2 separate regions of the Homo sapiens genome follow, and region 2 is linked to region 1. Evidence: promoter capture Hi-C in human tissues and cell types (Jung and others, 2019). All regions are on one chromosome and are shown on one strand. The core of a region is centred on a gene start or on the middle of the fragment in contact, and the rest is flanking DNA. Distances in the headings are between cores, read along the strand shown.

The links. Contacts are between HindIII fragments. The study calls those that stand out against the background at their distance.
Region 2: a contact is called between a fragment that was not itself captured here and the fragment with the promoter of KLB in region 1, in 1 of the 25 tissues and cell types used here (thymus).

What each region holds. Positions count from the first base shown.
Region 1 is chr4:39,405,383-39,408,658 of GRCh38, forward strand. KLB (klotho beta) reads left to right here and starts at 1,548. Exons shown (of 5, transcript NM_175737.4): 1 at 1,548-2,392. The coding sequence starts at 1,568. The HindIII fragment of the contact is 19,436 bases long and covers 1-2,381 here.
Region 2 is chr4:39,872,757-39,876,032 of GRCh38, forward strand. It overlaps PDS5A (PDS5 cohesin associated factor A), which reads right to left. Exons shown (of 33, transcript NM_001100399.2): 20 at 1,533-1,656; 21 at 230-388. Among named protein-coding and RNA genes, the nearest start is that of PDS5A, 100 kb to the right of the region's middle. The HindIII fragment of the contact is 9,111 bases long and covers 1-3,276 here.

The DNA of each region.
Region 1 (3,276 bases), core at 298-2,797:
CTGTAAAACATTAAATTTTTTACAGGTTATTTGGAGGCTATCGATTTGGTACAATATTTCTTTCTGTATGTGCATGTATTTCTTTCTGTATGTTTATCTTTATTCCAGAATCATGCTGAAGGTAGTCTATGCCTTTGCTATTTTCTTTTTCAGGTTTTTCTTTCCTTTTTAAAAATAAATATTGCCTATTCTTCAAGGGAACTTTCATAATAATTTTCTCTTTTTTTTTTTTTTTTTATTTTGAGACCGAGTCTTGCTCTGTTGCCCAGGCTGGAGTGCGGTGGTGCGATCTCAGCTCACTACAACCTCCACGTCCCAGGTTCAAGAGATTCTCCTGCCTCAGCCTCCCAGGTAGCTGGGATTACAGGTGCCCACCACCGTGCCCAGCTAATTGTATTTTTAATAGAGACGGGGTTTCAACATGTTGGCTAGGCTGGTCTCAAACTCCTGACCCCAAGTGATCTGCCTGCCTTGGCCTCCCAAAGTGGTGGGATTATAGCCATGAATCACTGTGCCTGGCCTTTCGTAATAATTTTCTTGAACTAAAATTTGGGATTAGGCCAGGCATGGTGGCTCACACCTATAATCCCAAGCACTTTAGGAGGCCGAGGCAGAAGGGCTGTTTGAGCCCAGGAGTTCAGGACCAGCCTGGGGGACATAGCTAGACCCCACCTCTACCAAAAAATCAAAAATCAGCTGGGCATGGTGGCATGTGCCTGTTGTCCCAGCTACTTGGAGGCTGAGGAGGGAGGATTGCTTAAGCCTGGGAAGTTGAGGCTGCGGTGAGCTGTGATGACACCACTGCACTCCAGCCTAGGCTACAAAGCAAGACTCTTATTAAAAATTAATTAATTAATTAAAAAATTAGAGATTAGAGAATTTTAGTTAAGTTAAATAAATAAAATAAAAAATAAAATTAGAGATTAGAGGATTTTAGTTAAGTTAAATGTATTAAATTGAAAAGTATTTCATTTTTCCATCCACAAAGTGCTATATTTTCTCATTCAAGTCTTCTCTCAAATCTACCAATACATTTTTGCAATTTTCCTAAAATAGGTAACATTTATTAAGATTGTTCTTAGATGCGTTATAATTTTGTGGAGAAGTGTAATTTCTTATTGTGTTTTCTAATTCTTTACTATTGGTATGTAGGAATGCTATATACTTGTATATGTTATTTTTCTTGATATATGAGATTATAAAATTACCACACAAAAACTCTAAAAATAGAAAAGCTATATACCTTATTCAATAATGTTCAAAACATTCAGAAAAGATTTGGGTCAATATGAAAGGCTACACGGAAAATAATGTGATTTTAATCCAGTGTTTACATATGTGTTAGTTACACATTCAAACTCTTGTCACCGATGCATTTTCATCTAATTTTTTCCATAATGAGAGAGAAGGAGACGCGTTGGTGACTGCAATAGGGCCACCTCCCTCAAATTACGTTGCTCTCTATGACCCATCCTCAGTCTCCCAGTTCAAGCTAATCATTGACAGAGCTTTACAATCACAAGCTTTTACTGAAGCTTTGATAAGACAGTCCAGCAGTTGGTGGCAAATGAAGCCAGGCTGTGCGGCAGGATCTCCAGGGAATGAATGGATTTTCTTCAGCACTGATGAAATAACCACACGCTATAGGAATACAATGTCCAACGGGGGATTGCAAAGATCTGTCATCCTGTCAGCACTTATTCTGCTACGAGCTGTTACTGGATTCTCTGGAGATGGAAGAGCTATATGGTCTAAAAATCCTAATTTTACTCCGGTAAATGAAAGTCAGCTGTTTCTCTATGACACTTTCCCTAAAAACTTTTTCTGGGGTATTGGGACTGGAGCATTGCAAGTGGAAGGGAGTTGGAAGAAGGATGGAAAAGGACCTTCTATATGGGATCATTTCATCCACACACACCTTAAAAATGTCAGCAGCACGAATGGTTCCAGTGACAGTTATATTTTTCTGGAAAAAGACTTATCAGCCCTGGATTTTATAGGAGTTTCTTTTTATCAATTTTCAATTTCCTGGCCAAGGCTTTTCCCCGATGGAATAGTAACAGTTGCCAACGCAAAAGGTCTGCAGTACTACAGTACTCTTCTGGACGCTCTAGTGCTTAGAAACATTGAACCTATAGTTACTTTATACCACTGGGATTTGCCTTTGGCACTACAAGAAAAATATGGGGGGTGGAAAAATGATACCATAATAGATATCTTCAATGACTATGCCACATACTGTTTCCAGATGTTTGGGGACCGTGTCAAATATTGGATTACAATTCACAACCCATATCTAGTGGCTTGGCATGGGTATGGGACAGGTATGCATGCCCCTGGAGAGAAGGGAAATTTAGCAGCTGTCTACACTGTGGGACACAACTTGATCAAGGTACTGTACAGCTAGCTTCTTCTTATAGCTTCAGAAAACACTAAGAATTTAAGAATTTACCTTCTGCCTCAGTAATTCTCTTCACTGAAATCAAGGCAACTGATTTTAAGCTAATTCAAAAGATCTATCCTCAAATTTTGCATTTAAGTTAGTGTATGTTTTATTTATCTAAGGTATTTTTAATGTATTAATCCAATTAGTTTTTTCAAAAGTTGCACTTTGAGGCTATTTTTAAATCTACCATTATACACTACAGTGTGAATATATGAGCTTACTTTCATTCTGTGGGAAAACAGTGCTTCATAAATTTAATTGTTGGAACCCTTTTCTGACAACATGCAATCATTTCAGAATTATCTTAAGGCACAACCATTTCAAATATGTATTTGTTGTTAAGTATAGCTAACTTAGCTAATAAGTAAATAAAGTAAGTAAATAAGTAAGCCAAATAAATGTTAGCTAACTCATGCATATTAAATACAGAAATTTAAATATACTTCACTTTTGATTTTATTTGTGTTACATAGCAAAAAAGAGAAGATTAATTGTTATGGGAGCTAAACACATTTCTTCCCATAAGAACTGGGAAGAATGTGCTCTACTAAAGCAATTTTCAAGCAATATATTTCAAAAGCTAGAGATAATGTTGAGAAATGTTAAAATTAGTAAAACAATAGTGAAAATACAAGCAAAATAATAGGTAATAATTACTGAGTACTTATTATGTACCACAGACTACATTAAGTATTTTACATGCATCGTTACAGTTGATCCTCTTAACAGCCTTTTGAACTAGTTTTATTATTCTTCCCATTTAAAAGATGAGGAAACTGAAGCTTAATGAGATTAAATAATTTTCCCAAGGTTAAGGAGTAAAATACAGC
Region 2 (3,276 bases), core at 567-3,066, 470 kb after region 1:
CACCAATCCCGTGTTCTAATTTTTGTTTCTTAAGTGTGAAATTCTAGTAGTAATAGCTACCATGAAATAAGGAAGTAGTTTCGAATTTAAATAAATAAAAAATAAGTAGAACCAATATAGAATAATTTAAAAGAAAAAGAGAATTACACAGAAACAGAAGTGTTTCTGTGATGAAGATGTAAACAGCCTTAATCTCATGATTCTCAATTTAATTAAATGAGAAACTTACCCTGTCATTCATTAGCAGATCTTTCACAATAAAATTTGCTACTACAGATTTCATTGGGGAAGCAAACTGATCTGGTGCTAACATAGAAATGTGGCCCAATGAAACTAATGGAGTTATAAGTTGTTCTGGCACATCAGCATTCAGACTCCTACTGAGTGGCTATAAAAATAAAACAGACAAAATTACCAATTTGTTTGATAAATATCTAGACACTCTACTGAAACAGTACATTTTCCTGAGTCCTCCTGAATTTACCATGCCCAAACCAATCTTCTCTAATACGATCATAACTAACTTCAACCATGTTAAGACACCTGGTTCTTAATTCACCTACTAAAATTTAGCAAGATTGAAAGAATGTAGAAAAAAGATAAAAGAAAAAATAAAATCCAACAAAAAGAAGTTTAAAGAAAAACATTTTTGCTTCATCAAATCAGCATTATTTTTGACTAATCTACAACAATGGATTTGCTATACCAGTGGTTTTCTTACCCTGTGGAAGCATTTTAAATGACCTTAAATCATACAAAGTAAGAGTTCACTGGGTTTTGGTCACACTATCTCCAATTTATGATAATAGGAATACATTTCTAATAGTAAAATGAGGCCAGTCATTATATGTAAAAAAAAGGGAAACAGGATTAATTTTCAGGTAGGGTTCTTAGGTACTTTAAACTGGATTGTTCAAAATTATCTACTAATACTTTCCGAGGATAAATGCACCACTGAACCAATAAGGCTAAAATTAAGTAAAATGTTCTAACATAAACACATAAGGCTAGGTGTGGTGGCTCATGTGTGTAATCCTAGCACTTTGAAAGACTGAAGTGGGTGGATCGCTTCAGTCCAGGAGTTTGAGACCAGCCTGGGCAACATGGCAAAACCCCATCTCTATAAAAAAATCCAAAAATTAGCTAGGCATGGTGGTGGTGCCTGTACTCTCAGCTACTTGGGAGGCTGAGGCAGAAGGACTGCTTGAACCTAGGAATTCGGGGCTGCAGTGAGCAGAGATTGCATCACTGTACTCCAGCACTGGTGAGAAAGTGAAACTTTATCTCAAAAACAAACTAAAAAACAAAAACCACAAAACCCTTCAATATGAGGTGTTTGAACATATAATCTGATCTACAGGCTGGGAATGCAGTACCACATAAAATAGACAGAATCCTTGCTCACAAGGAATTTATAGTCTAAGGTAGGACTTCATATAAACAGCTTTAAAAAATCTAGCTTCCATCTTCATCAAACTATAGAGCTTAAAAAATAAAGACCAATATAAACACAACCTATATATTAGATATACCTCAAAAATCTGTGCAAGCTGGACTTCTTTATTTGTGAATATGGCGTGTATACAGTGCACAGCCTGTTTTGCTTGGTGTGGAGTACCCCTCTTTGCTTTTTGATGTAAAATGGGAATTAAGGTCCTGCAAAAAATAATATAGTTGTTTTTTTTTCTTAAACCCATAAACCAACAAGTATTCCTTTGGTTGACTTCCACTTCCCCTATATGGATGGATGCTAGTAGAGAAGGCTCTCTTAAAAATTATCTGATCTAAAGAAAGTTGTAAAAAAGCTCCATCTCTGCCCCCAAGTATAAACCAAGAAATACAATGCCTCAAGAAAAAGCCTACTTCAGGAGACAATTTTTATTTTAAAGTTACCTCACAAATATGCAAAATAACAAGCAACCCTTAATTCATAATCTAAAGCTTACCCCATGACATATTTTTGCATTTACCTTCTAAGTAGCAATATTGCTAATTTTTCAATTCCCTTTTATAATCCCCTTCAGTTATTTCAAAGTAGCTACAGAAAGAGAGTAGCAAAAGGCCAAGTTGTATTAAACAGCTGAAATAATACTAGTGAAAGAAAGTATGCAAAGATACAGCTACATATATATCAGTAGAATGGCAATAAAAATATCTAACTATTATGTGCCAGGCACCATTCTAGGTATTTCCGCATGGATTAATTCAACTAATGTTCACATCCACCCAAAGAAGACTATCATAGTCATTACACAGATGAGAAAATTAAAGCACAAAGATGTTATTTAAGCCTCCTAAGATGACGAAGCTAGGAAACTGGGAGTTGGGATTTGAAAATTAGCATTTCTTTCAAAATCCACATACTTAACCTCTACACTGACAATGAAGAGTAAACTAAAACAGTCTTCTTTTAGGATGACAGAAAAACATAAAGCATTCTTCAAAAATTAAATGTTGATGACATGAAAAAGCATTAGGTAGAATGAAGAAAATAGTGTGCATATATGAACTTATAAAAAATAGACAAACACATCTAGTAGATGAACATTCATAGAAAGTATATATATCAAATGTTAATGGTGACTATTTCGTTATATTTTTTCTAGTTTCAGTTTGCTACAATGAACGTAAGTATTTTTATAATCAGAATAAAATTGATAAAACGAAACAAACATTTAAGGAAAGATATTTGTCATATATTTAATGTTATTAGAGAAGAGCCTATTTTATAAAGTTAGTGGCATCAAATGCAAGGGTGACAATGCCCTCTTATGATAATGGAAGGCTACATATGAAACCTATACTGCAGGCTCCAGGCCATGCACTTTAACCAAAAATGGGAACATATGCTAGTTGGTATGAATCTGATTTGACATGTATAAATATGCCTGAAGTTTGCCTCTATGGACTTTGGAATTATGAGATAGGGATGTCCATGACCAAACAGACTTCCTTGACTGAGTATTGACTATGCTTCTAAATGGAAGATGTCTTTCCTCTCTCCTATCTGTTTAGTCTTTCACCATTCCATTTACCAGACTGAGATTTCTTATAACACTGGTGAATGACAAAGGAAGATAGTTTCAATCAAACTGTTGTTAAATGTATTATTATTATTAGCCAAATAAAATAATACAGAAAGTCAACTTTAACCTTTCTTCTTGTTTTTTCTAGAGCAGTATAATCTAGTGATGCCATCAGAGTTGTTATTGAGGTCTTTAGCATTGTGCTTTTCTGCTTTCCAGTGATTATCTCCTTTCTTCTCCATTGGTCTTA